Regions from separate parts of the Homo sapiens genome. Here region 1 is linked to region 2. Evidence: promoter capture Hi-C in 16 types of primary human blood cells and fetal thymus (Javierre and others, 2016). All regions are on one chromosome and are shown on one strand. The core of a region is centred on a gene start or on the middle of the fragment in contact, and the rest is flanking DNA. Distances in the headings are between cores, read along the strand shown. Region 1 overlaps LOC101928146 (a long non-coding RNA gene). Region 2 holds the start of TMEM14B (transmembrane protein 14B).

Region 1 (5,943 bases), core at 3,081-5,580, 230 kb after region 2:
GGGGTTTCTCCATGTTGGTCAGGCTGATCTCGAACTCCTGACCTCAAGTAATCTGCCCACCTTGGCCTCCTAAAGTGCTGGGATTACAGATGTGAGCCACCCCGCCTGGCCAAATCAACAATTCTTAAAATGACCTATTTTGAAAAGACTAAAAGAAGCCCAACTGTTTTAACAGCATTTATTTTAGAGTTTTAGGATTATGGTAAATTTTACTTTCTTCTATGTATTTTTTTCCTATTTTCCACATTTTATAAAATGGTCATGAATTATTTTTTTCTAATTGGAAAGGAACAATTTTAATGGTCGTGACTGGTTATCTTCTCCCTCATCTTACGCTGCATTGTGTGTGTTGGGCCCAGATCTACAATTCAACTTCCTCATGAGCGCATGAGTCAGCATTTCTTCATGGCCTGTCATTCTGTACTGTTTGCAAAAGTATGAAAAATAGAGACCAGCCCATGGGAATTTTGCTGGAGAGGTAAATAAAATGCTCCATACAATTCTATACCTTTTACCAACCAAAGAATAAAATCATCAAATATCCAAGTATACATCAGTATTTTACAAACCCAGACTTTAGTGATGAAGGTAGGGAAAAAAGGATGACTGTCCTGGAGATTCAAGACGGGGTCTACTTATTGGGAAAGAGCCAGTTAAGTCAAATCATCGCAGCAACGGGTGATTTTTTCCTTGGCAAATTACCTAATTATTTCACTATTTCATTATGCCTATTCAAATGATCTCAGTCCTTGCCAGCTCCTTACAGCCTCCATTCTTTGCTGGAAATACCCTTATCCTTTCACCTCCTGGCCACCCAACCTGTTCTTCTCCATCACAAACAATAGAGCATTGAAATTCTGTGCCTGCCACCCAGAAAACTGGCAACCCACAAAGAACAAGAAAAATGGCTAACATACCTTTAAAATATATTCATCTTTAACAAATTATAAATAACAAGAGTAGCGCAGTTCTTTTTCTGTTTAATTCAAGTAATTTTTTAAAAGAAATACATTAGGCCAGGTGCGGTGGCTCACGCCTCTAATCCCAGCGCTTTGGGAGGCCGAGGCGGGCAGATCACTTGAGGCCAGGAGTTCGAGACTAGCCTGGCCAACATGGTGAAACCCCCTCTCTACTAAAAATACAAAAAAAATTAGCCCGGTGTGATGGCACATGCCTGTAGTCCCAGCTACTTGGGAGGCTGAGGCAGAAGGATCTCTTGAACCTGAGAGGCAGAGGTTGCAGTGAGCTGAGATAGCACCACTGCACTCCAGCCAGGGGGACAGAGAGACTGTCTCAAAAATAAAATAAATACATTAGAATACCACTGTTAGCAGACGTGTGATCACACACTGGTGGACTGATGGAAAATTAGAATATATTTTGGAAAGCAATTTTGCAATATGTATCAAGAATTTTAAATGTGGCTATCTTTCAATCCAGTGAATTTTAATTCCAAAGACAATAATACTAAAATGTGGCGAAGCTTATGTGAAAAGATGTTACTTACTTTTGATGTTATTCAGTATTGACTAAAATAACATTTTACACAGTAAAAAACTAGGAACGAGGCTGTAATCCCCTCACTTCAGGAGGCGGAGCCAGCCGGGCCAGCGGCTCATGCCTGTAATCCCAGCACTTTGGAAGGCTGAGGCGGGCGGATCACAAGGTCAGGAAATCGAGACCATCCTGGCTAACACAGTGAAACCCCGTCTCTACTAAAAATACAAAAAAATTAGCCAGGGGTGGTGGCGGGCGCCTGTAGTCCCAGCTACTCGGAAGGCTGAGGCAGGAGAATGGCGTGAACCCAGGAGGCGGAGCTTGCAGTGAGCAGAGATCACGTCACTGCAGTCCAGCCTGGGCGACAGAGTGAGACTCCGCCTCAGAAAAAAAAAAGGAGGCGGAGCCAGTAGGATAGTTTGAGCCCAGGAGTGTGAGACCATCCTGGGCAACATAGCGAGACCCCACTTCTACAAAACATTTAAAAATTAGGTGGGGCGCAGTGGCTCAAGCCTGTAATCCCAGCTACTCAGGAGGCTGAGGCAGGAAAATCGCTTGAACCCGGGAGGCAGAGGTTGCAGTGAGCCGAAATTGTGCCACTGCACTCCAGCCTGGGTGATAGAGCAAGAACCTGTCTCAAAAAAAAAAAAAAAAAAAAAAAAAGGAAAAAACGAACTATTGAGGAATTGGTAAGCAAACTATGGTACATCCATACTATGATAAAATACAATATGTCATATTTTTAATCACATAGGGAAACTATTATGATATAGTGTTAAATGAAAGTAGCAGGATAAAAAAATTACATCATCAGTATAACCTAACTACATGAAGCAATACACAGAGAAAGAGGTAAATAATGCTAAAATGCTAACAGAAATTACTTCTCAGTTTTGTATAATGCGTAGATTTTACTTTCTTGTTTATGCTTTTGTTTTTCCCAGAGTTTCCGCAGTAAGATTGAATTTTATAATAAGAAAAGAATGTTTTAAAATGTTCTGCCCACGGATAACTAGTAGAGGATTTTAAAATTTTATACGAAGGATGACTTCCTGAAGACTCATGAAGGCTGGCCCACAGAGGGTTTCTACCCATCAATCCAAGTGAGGCCAGCATGTGGACATGGCCCAAACACAGTTGACAGACAGTTCACCTGGAAGATGGTTCTGAATTCTTGAAAAAATTTTTTTTTTTTTTTCAGAGATGGAGTCTCGCACTCTCGCCCAGGCTGAAGTGCAGTGGCGAAATCTCGGCTCACTGCAAGCTCCGCCTCCTGGGTTCACGCCATTCTCCTGCCTCAGCCTTCCGAGTAGCTGGGACTACAGGCGCCCGCCACCAACCCCGGCTAATTTTTTTTGTATTTTTAGTAGAGACGGGATTTCACCATGTTAGCCAGGATGGTCTCGATCTCCTGACCTTGTGATCCGCCCGCCTTGGCCTCCCAGAGTGCTGGGATTACAGGCATGAGCCACCGTGCCTGGCCAAATTCTTGAAATTCTTAATGGATTTTTAAAACTTTTTTCATTTGGAGAAATTTGCATTATTTCATATTGTTCTTATAGAAATTTTATTGACATTCTCAGATCTCAAACTTTTCAAATGCGTGTAATATAGATTCACAGAAAATGAGATTATAATGAATAATCCAATCCATATTGAAGATACTGAATTTCTAGACAACATATTATCATTGCTTAAAAAAGAGTTTTGGGGGCTGGGCGCAGTGGCTTAAGCCTGTAATCCCAGCACTTTGGGAGGCTGAGGTGGGCGAATCACCTGAGGACAGGAGTTCGAGACCAGCCTGACCAACATAGAGAAACCCCGTCTCTACTACAAATACAAAATTAGCCGGGCGTGGTAGCGCATGCCTGCAATTCCAGCTACTCGGGAGGCTGAGGCAGGAGAATCGCTTGAACCCGGGAGGCGGAGGTTGTGGTGAGCCGAGATTGTGGCATTACACTCTAGCCTGGGCAACAAGAGCGAAACTCCATCTCAAAAAAAAAAAAAAAAAAAAAGTTTTGGGTGTCATATCAGAGATTCAAAGATCTCAGAAAGACAAACTTCACATATTCTCACGTTTGTGGGAGCTAAAAGTTAAAATAATTGAACTCATGGAGTTAGAGAGTAGAAGGATGATGAGCAGAGGCTGGGAAAGGGAGTAGGGGTATGGAGGGAAAGGGGGAGGGTTAATGGGTACAAAAACAGAAAGAATGAATAAGACCTAGTATTTGCTAGCATAACATAAGTCAAAAATAATTTAATCGTACATTTTAAAAGGAATAAAAGTGTAATTGGATGGTTTGTAACACAAAGGATAAATGCTTGAGGTCATGGAGACCCCGTTTACCCTGAAGTGATTATTTCACATTTCATGACTGATTCAAAACGTCTCATGTAACCCATAAATATATATACCTACTGTGTACCAACAAAAAATTTAACAAAACATAACATACAATGACAGCAGAAATTTAATAAGGATGTTCTATAAGCTAACAGTCTATTTAGTGACACATAGAAGCATAATTTATTTTATTTATTTATTCATTCATTCATTGAGATGGAGTCTTGCTGTGCCACCCAGGCTGGAGTGCAGTGCTGCAATCTTGGCTCCCTGCAGCCTCCACCTCCCAAGTTCAAGTGATTCTCCTGTCTTGGCCTCCTGAGTAGCTGGGATTACAGGCCAGTGCCACCACACCTGGCTGATTTTTGTATTTTTAGTAGAGACAGGGTTTCACCATGTTGGCCAGGCTGGTCTCAAACTCCTGACCTCAAGTGATCTGCCTACCTCGGCCTCCCAAAGTGGTGGGATTACAGGCATGAGCCACCGCACCTGGCCAGAAGTATATTTTATATTAATTTATTGAAACATATGGAAAGCAGTCAACAGGATATTCATTAAGTCTAGAAACACAGATGGGTATACATAACTTCATCAAGACCATTTTCAATGTGTAACACACACGTGTGCGTGCACTCACAGAGTTTAGACTTTATGTAGATTGGAAATCAAGTTCCACATACCTGGAATCCTACTGAGTGTCACCCAGAAATGCTCATCAGGAGAGTCAGTATCTTTTGACCACTCAAGTAAATCAATGGCCCTTAGGTTTTGAAGAACAAAATTAGCAAATTCCCTTGTAAGGGCCACATAGGCAGAGCCAAAGTAAATTGTCAGATGGTGGGGAGGAGGCATTTTTCTCATGCAAGTCCACAGCATGAAGGAAAACAAGCTATCTCTGCTCCAAGTGCATGTATTTGGTCCTTCTGATAATATGAGGAGGAGGCGGCACCCCGGGGGTGATATTTTTCCTTTTCCGTAACCTCAGATACTGAACGTATTTCCCTGTTGGTTTTCAGGGGAATTCTTGCCCACAGGTGTTGATGACGTACTTCCAGGGAACCTCAGAGGCCACAAGGTCTTTCAGGCAGTGCAGGTCAGCCTGGAGCCTGGAGATCCCTGTGTAGAACAGAGACTCCCTCTCAGAAGCCACAGAGACGTTTGTGAAGCAGCTCAGTAGCTTTCTTACAGCGTCTTTGAAAGTGACTGGGGCCTTCTGATCCACATGAACACAGTAGATGTTTTGGGGAGTGTAGATGGCCCTCAAGAGTCTTTCAAATGTATCAGTCTTTGCGGATGACCATGACATAGGCCAAAGGGAACTCGGCTTCGTCTTTGGACACAGGTTCCATTATGCAGTGATTTCGGATCAAGTATCGCTGGCAGGTTATTATTTCTCAATGGCGTCACTGGTATATTTTCATCCAAGAACATTTTCTTGCCTGTCACAATCATGCCACACACTTCTGCAAGGACTGAAGAGTTTGAGATCTTCCCCCATGGAAGATATTTTTGCGGGACCTAATAGTTACTATACAGGAATAAAAGAGTTATGGACGTGGCCATAAGCCCTAGGACCAACCCAAATGCCTCTACCTTTATTTTTCCTATGGTCTTTTCTGGATTCATCATTCACCTGATTTTATGCCATTGCTGAAGTCAGTCTGCAGGTCCCTGCCCAGACTTGAGAAATGTGCTCTAGCAACTTATTTGCAGCAAGAAGTGCAATATGACCATTTACTTAAAAGAAGGAGGATCAACCACAAGTCGGTAGCTCTTCTATTTAAAAAATCAGGTGACTCTTTGAACATGAGCCAGTGGGGCCAGCTGACCACTTCACAAAAGCCAGGCACAGTTGGGCACCTCTGTCTAGGTCAACCACAAATTAAGACCCTAGCAAATCGGCCACAGCTGCCAGCTCAGGGTGTTTTTCCCATGTGGAGTACAGGTGGAATGTGTGTTCATTTGGCACCTCTTTTTCCCATGCAGAGCCACCATCACCATCACTGATGTCACCTTTGAATGCAAGGGACACTATATTTCTTCAACTTCAGGCAATCACAGTTGTCCTGAAGTAGGTCACCATTTACGTGGACAGCACCCAG
Region 2 (5,486 bases), core at 1,057-3,556:
GGGGGCAAAAACAAGCACAGCCACTGACACACCCCTGCCTGGCCTAATGAGGAAACTTCAAAATACCAGTCTGTGTAGGCCAGAGGTTGACTCCTACTTAAGCCCAGAGATGGCACTTGGGGGTCATGGCTGATGAATGGCAGTCAATGATAATAACAAACTACAACCACCCCTGCCTACCTTTAGATAAAGAGGCAAAAATAAGTAATTCCACAAGAGGCCTGGCTCAGCTTCACCAGATAAGCAAAAGGCAAGGGCAGGAGCTGCAAGACTGACAAGGAAGCCTGCACTCCAGCTTGGGGACCTACAGCAAAGCTGAGTCAAACGAGATTGCTTCTCAGGGACACAGGCACTCACATTTCACTGGAACAACGTGAAGATGTTAAGAGGCTAAGTAACAACAAAACCCTACCTGTTTTTACATAGCCAACGATCCCACCAGAAACAACCAGTGCTGTGTAGCCAAAGCCAAACCAATGCAAAGGCACTCTGAAAACACAAGAGAAGTCAGTGAGAAGTCAGTGCTAACCTGGATTTAAAAACAAACCATATTGTCATAGGATGGGGCTAAAAGGTAATCATTCCCCACAGGTCCTATGTGCCCACAGGTACTATCACTGAAAATAAGCACCACAGAGGTTGGATGACTTTCTGAGAGTCACACAACTAAGCAAAGCTAGAGCTGGGACTCAAACCCAAGTTTCTGGCCCACAGGTCCAGTGATCCTCCCATCCCGCACGCCATCCCAGGCAGTCTACTCTTAGGGTTCTTTTCAGCTGAGGAAAGGAACTCTGGTTTCCAGAAGCTCCTGGCTACTCTCTAACCATTTACTGTCTACTCACAATGGGAAGAGGGGCTTCTCCATTCTTCTCTTCTCAGTCCAGAAAGGAGACTACCCCAGGCCTGCATCTGGGGAAAACAAGCCGGATCAGCAGTGGTTAAAAGCACAGCTCCCCAGCAGTCAGAAAGAAGTGTGTCCAACCTGCAGGCTATGCAACCTAAGTCTCAGTATCCTTCACTGTACCATGAGGATAACACTGGTACCAATTTCCTGGGGGTGTTGTGAGCATTCAATGGATGTCACATGTAAAGGTGCTTAGCACCTAGTAAACCCTGAACAGATGCCGATCATTTCACATAGGTCCACAGGAAACTCAGCAAGATCCACTGACCAGCTCTATAATCAGGGAATGTGTTAGTCATTTCATTAAGCACTCACATTATCACTAAATCGGAAAGCAAATACTCCCGTGCCCTTAATCCAACTACTTTAATGTCTCTTTTGAGGGGTGGTAGGGATGTTGCTTTTCTTCACTGATGCAACAGCCAATTTCAATACTCAATTTTTTTTTTTAGAAACTTCTGCATCCAACTCACAGTTCTCGTTAGGAGGGCAGAAGGGGAGGGTAAAATACACGGAAACTCAAGTCAGAATCACATGTGACATTGCACCCTTGGAAAAACAGCTCCTATTTTCTTACAGAAAAGTATTCTGTATGCAGTGAACCTAACAAGATGGAAAGCAATGCATACGCCGTTTATTCTGTTTAAAGAATTAGGCCAGGCAAAGTGGCTCACGCCTGTAATCCCAGTACTTTGGGAGGCCCAGGCAGGCGGATTACCTGAGGTTAGGAGTTCGAGAACAGCTTGGTCAACATGGTGAAACCCATATTCTATTAAAACACACACACACACACACAAATCGGGCATGATGGCATGCACCTGTAATCCCAGCTACTTGGGAGGCTGAGGTGGGAGGATGGCTTGAGCCCAGGAGGCAGAGGCTGCAATAAGACATATTCAGGCTACTGCACTCCAGGCTGGGCGACACAGCGAGAACCCCTCCCCACCCCCCAAAAAAAGAAAGAATTAATTTCCCATAAAACGGGGAAGGGCAGCGGGCTTGGGATCTTGCCCACAGTTCTTAACTCGAGGCGGCACTGAGTAAGGGAGGCTTTTAAAGAGCTGGAGCAACAAAACCACCAGGAAACGAGGCAACACTATGCTACAAGGGTAAGCCTTTGCCTCAGGAGCTCAGGTGCTCCGAGCATCCACAGCCTCTTTTAAGACAAGCAGAAAATACCCAAGGAGAAAAGCACCGACCACACGGCATAAAGGCCCGCTGAATCGGGGGGACGAAAAGCAGACGGCCGTGAAACTCCTAAATAATCCCTAAAAGTTAAAAGTGGCAGAAAATAAAAACAATACTCTCCAAAGACCTGCACCGACCTGCCGAAGGCCCGCGGAGTCCACTACGGAGCGCAAGCCGCGGGACACAGCAGCCAGGTCTCTCCGGAAACGCGATTGCGTGCGCGCTGCGCCCCGGGGCCGCGGCAGGGCGGGGAGAAAGGCGGGACGTCGTGGCGCGTGCGCAGTGTCCTTGGAGAGAGGTGAGCGGAGAATGGGGACAGTGGGGGCGGGGCTTGAGCCGCGGATTACCAGCACGCGCCCTGCATCCCGGGGGCGGGGAGTGAGGCGGGGCATCGCGGCTAGCGCCGTTGGCGGGGAACCGGGCGGGGAATCTCTGTGCTTCCTCAGTCCCCAGGCCCAGCACCTGCAGGGCCGACCAGCTCCAGTCCCAGGTCCAATCCTGAGTGGCCAAAAGCCGGAAACCCGGAGTTGGAATTGGATCTTGCACAAGCTGGACCACGTAAGCTGGGCCAGGCCAGAGGTGGAGGCCACCGCTGCGGGAGGAGGGCATCTGATGATTTTGAAGGACCCCATTAATAGAGGGTATAAACCAGGTGCGGGCCATCAGGGAGGATTGTCACTCTGGCCCGATCTTGTTTGTTTACACCAGGAAGGGCCTGCCTTCCACCTGCAAGAAAATATGGCAGCTGCAGAATAATGTGGCGCAATGCCAAATATCCGTTTGTTTTAGGGAGTGAGGCTACTTGAGAAGCATCTTAAATGGGGAGAGAGAGCAAGTTAAATCTGATTTCCACGCAGCTCTGTGGATTCCGAATGTCCACAGTATGATGTTATCTCCATTCCCACTTCCGAGCCGCTCCTCTTCTGTGTTTCCTGCACCACCATTCGCTCAGTTGCTCTACACTAAAATTTGCTGTCATCGTTGACTTCTCCCTCTCCTTCATCCCCTACAAGTATCAACATAGACAACTCCGATCAATATAATCATCAGTGAATAAAGCAAATTGCAGCGCATATTCTTAAAGACAAACTTTCCACTTGCAGCAGCACCTACCTTCCAGATAGCTAAATTGAAGCCCGTGTTTATCATAGCTGCTTCTAACCAGCCAGAGCTGATAATAACTAAGAACTTGCAGGAATTGCAGTATGCCAGACCTTCAATTTAATTGAAGACTTTCCTGAACAATTAATGAGACTTGTCTTAACCAGCAGGGAATGGCTTTAGGGACTCATTCTTCCCTATGCAGGTGCAAGCCTCAAACCTTAATTAGGATCATCCACCATGATCCTCGAGCCCTTCCCCACCTTATACTTGAAGAGGCTGAACCTCAGAGAATTAAATTACCTACAGTCCTGGTCACTGGTAGAGCTATTATTTAAAGTAAGGTCTAATGTCAAAGCCTGCGTCCTTAATTCTACCATATGCTGCTTCTTGCAGTGTCGTTCCTCAACCAGAACACATAGCTCTTCTGTGTAGGTAAAGTCCATCAAAACATGTCATAAAATAAATTAAAGAAATTGGTTTCTGCTCTATTTCAATTAGTACCAGAGTAAAACAATCAATGATTTGTGTTTGGGAATATTTCTAGTTGGCATTAACGTTGTTAGGAGATAGCTTAGCTCTTCACTGGGGGCCCACTGAATTATCGGAACCCTGGAACACAAATGTGTCAAAAGGGTGTAATCAAAATTATGTCAGGGAATGTTAAGTTTCTAGTCTTTGGTCACTGAGGCCTATCAGTAGGTTTGGGTGTTTTGTTTTGTTTTTCCCACAAAGAGGCTTTGAGTAAGAATTGTGTCTGGTAGACAAACACAGGTACACACACAGGTGTGTACTCACACAGCAAGAGCAGTAGAGATCATCTCCCACAACACAAGAGCTCATGAAGAAAGGGAATTGAGCTTCAATGTAAGCATTAGTTTAGCATTTTTGGAGCCTGAATGTGTTGACTTTACAAATTAAGAAGTCCCTGAACAAAAACGTCAAAAACAAATCCCAAGTTGCAGTCTGCCCAGGTAATTCATGTCTATCAAGTGTCTACAATACCAATTTCTACATCTTTGGGAGTATTTTATAGGTTTGTTTGAAGAGCAAGGTCAATAACTCTTTCCCCAAGAAATAAATGAAATCATAAAAAAAAAACCGCCTATTTTCTTAACCTAACCTATCTGCCATCTACTTCTGGATCATATTCATTGGAGCCATAAAAATATTAGCAGAAGCATATGCAGTTCTTATTATCTGCCACTGTTGGAAGCGCTTTACATATGTTAACTAACTTACACTTCATACCAACTCTGTGCAGTGACGACTATGATTATCTCCTGCTTTACACATGGAAGAAATTGAGGCACAGACTACAAGGTCACACAGCAAATGGCAGAGCTGTCCTAACTCTGCATTTGTTTCTTGCAGTGAAGAGTCTTTTTTCTGTCTCTTAGTCTGTTCTCAACACAGTGACCAGAGCACTTGGGTTAGAAGTCTGACTGTGCCATTTCTCTCCCCAAAACCCTCTGGTGGCACCCCTTTTCTCAGGCAGTGCTTTGCAAAGCCCCACACATCCTCCTCCCTGACATCAGCATCTTCTCTTTCCCCCTCACTTGTGTTTCCTTCTTGCCCTCAGCTGCTTCATCTGCCTGGAACGCCTCCCCAGACAATCTCCTGGTTCACGCCCTCTCCTCCTTTCTGTCTTTACGCAAATGTCACTTCTCAGAGAGACCTTCCCTAATCACCTGATTTAAAACTTCAACTCATCTGCATTTCCCCCGACAGCATCTTTCCTTCCATGACAATTCCCTGCTAACCTGCTCTGTAACTGGCTTAATCATCGTAGAGCCTACCTCCCCCTTTTTTGCATGTTTGTTTCATGGGAGTGATGATATTTATGCAGCATTTAGCACAGTGCCTGGCCCATAACCAGTACTCAGTAAACATGTGTTGAATGGACAAGTAGATGTGGAGTGAGAAATGAGAGGGGTGGTCGGCAGACAGGAGAACAAAGGCCACATGTACAGTTTGCCCTGGCTGTACCCTGGCTCTGGTTCTTCCTGCCTTGGCCTCAGCCAGATACACCTGTGTCCTTCTCATGTACTTACCCCCACGTCCTCTGTTGAAGCTTAGGACATCCAGAGTTGCATTTGTTTCTTGCAGTGAAGAGTCTTTTAAAATCTGAAATAGGCTGTGAGCGGTGGCTCACGCCTGTAATCCCATCACTTTGGGAGGCTGAGGCACATGGATCACCTGAGGTCAGGAGTTCGAGACTAGCCTGGCCAACATGGTGAAACGCTGTCTCTACTAACAATACAAAAAAAAAAAAATAGCCGGGTGTGATGGT

What was found. Contacts are between HindIII fragments. The CHiCAGO score rates a contact against its expected background, and 5 or more counts as called.
Region 1: a contact is called between a fragment that was not itself captured here and the fragment with the promoter of TMEM14B in region 2, in 3 of 17 cell types (total B cells, erythroblasts and naive B cells). The highest score is 6.4, in total B cells.

The regions. Positions count from the first base shown.
Region 1 is chr6:10,513,520-10,519,462 of GRCh38, reverse strand. The region is part of intron 1 of LOC101928146 (a long non-coding RNA gene); the gene reads left to right. It also overlaps the pseudogene LOC100422564. Among named protein-coding and RNA genes, the nearest start is that of GCNT2, 4.9 kb to the left of the region's middle. RefSeq lists enhancers at 1-241, 321-465, 481-981 and a cis regulatory region at 388-398. The HindIII fragment of the contact is 5,689 bases long and covers 1,486-5,943 here.
Region 2 is chr6:10,744,625-10,750,110 of GRCh38, reverse strand. It overlaps TMEM14B (transmembrane protein 14B), which reads right to left and starts at 2,306. Exons shown (of 6, transcript NM_030969.5): 1 at 2,230-2,306; 2 at 843-909; 3 at 413-489. The coding sequence starts at 865. It overlaps TMEM14B-DT (TMEM14B divergent transcript), which reads left to right and starts at 2,527. Exons shown (of 2, transcript NR_187231.1): 1 at 2,527-2,650. RefSeq lists silencers at 2,277-2,336, 2,292-2,512, 2,347-2,576 and an enhancer at 2,697-2,746. The HindIII fragment of the contact is 12,296 bases long and covers 1-5,269 here.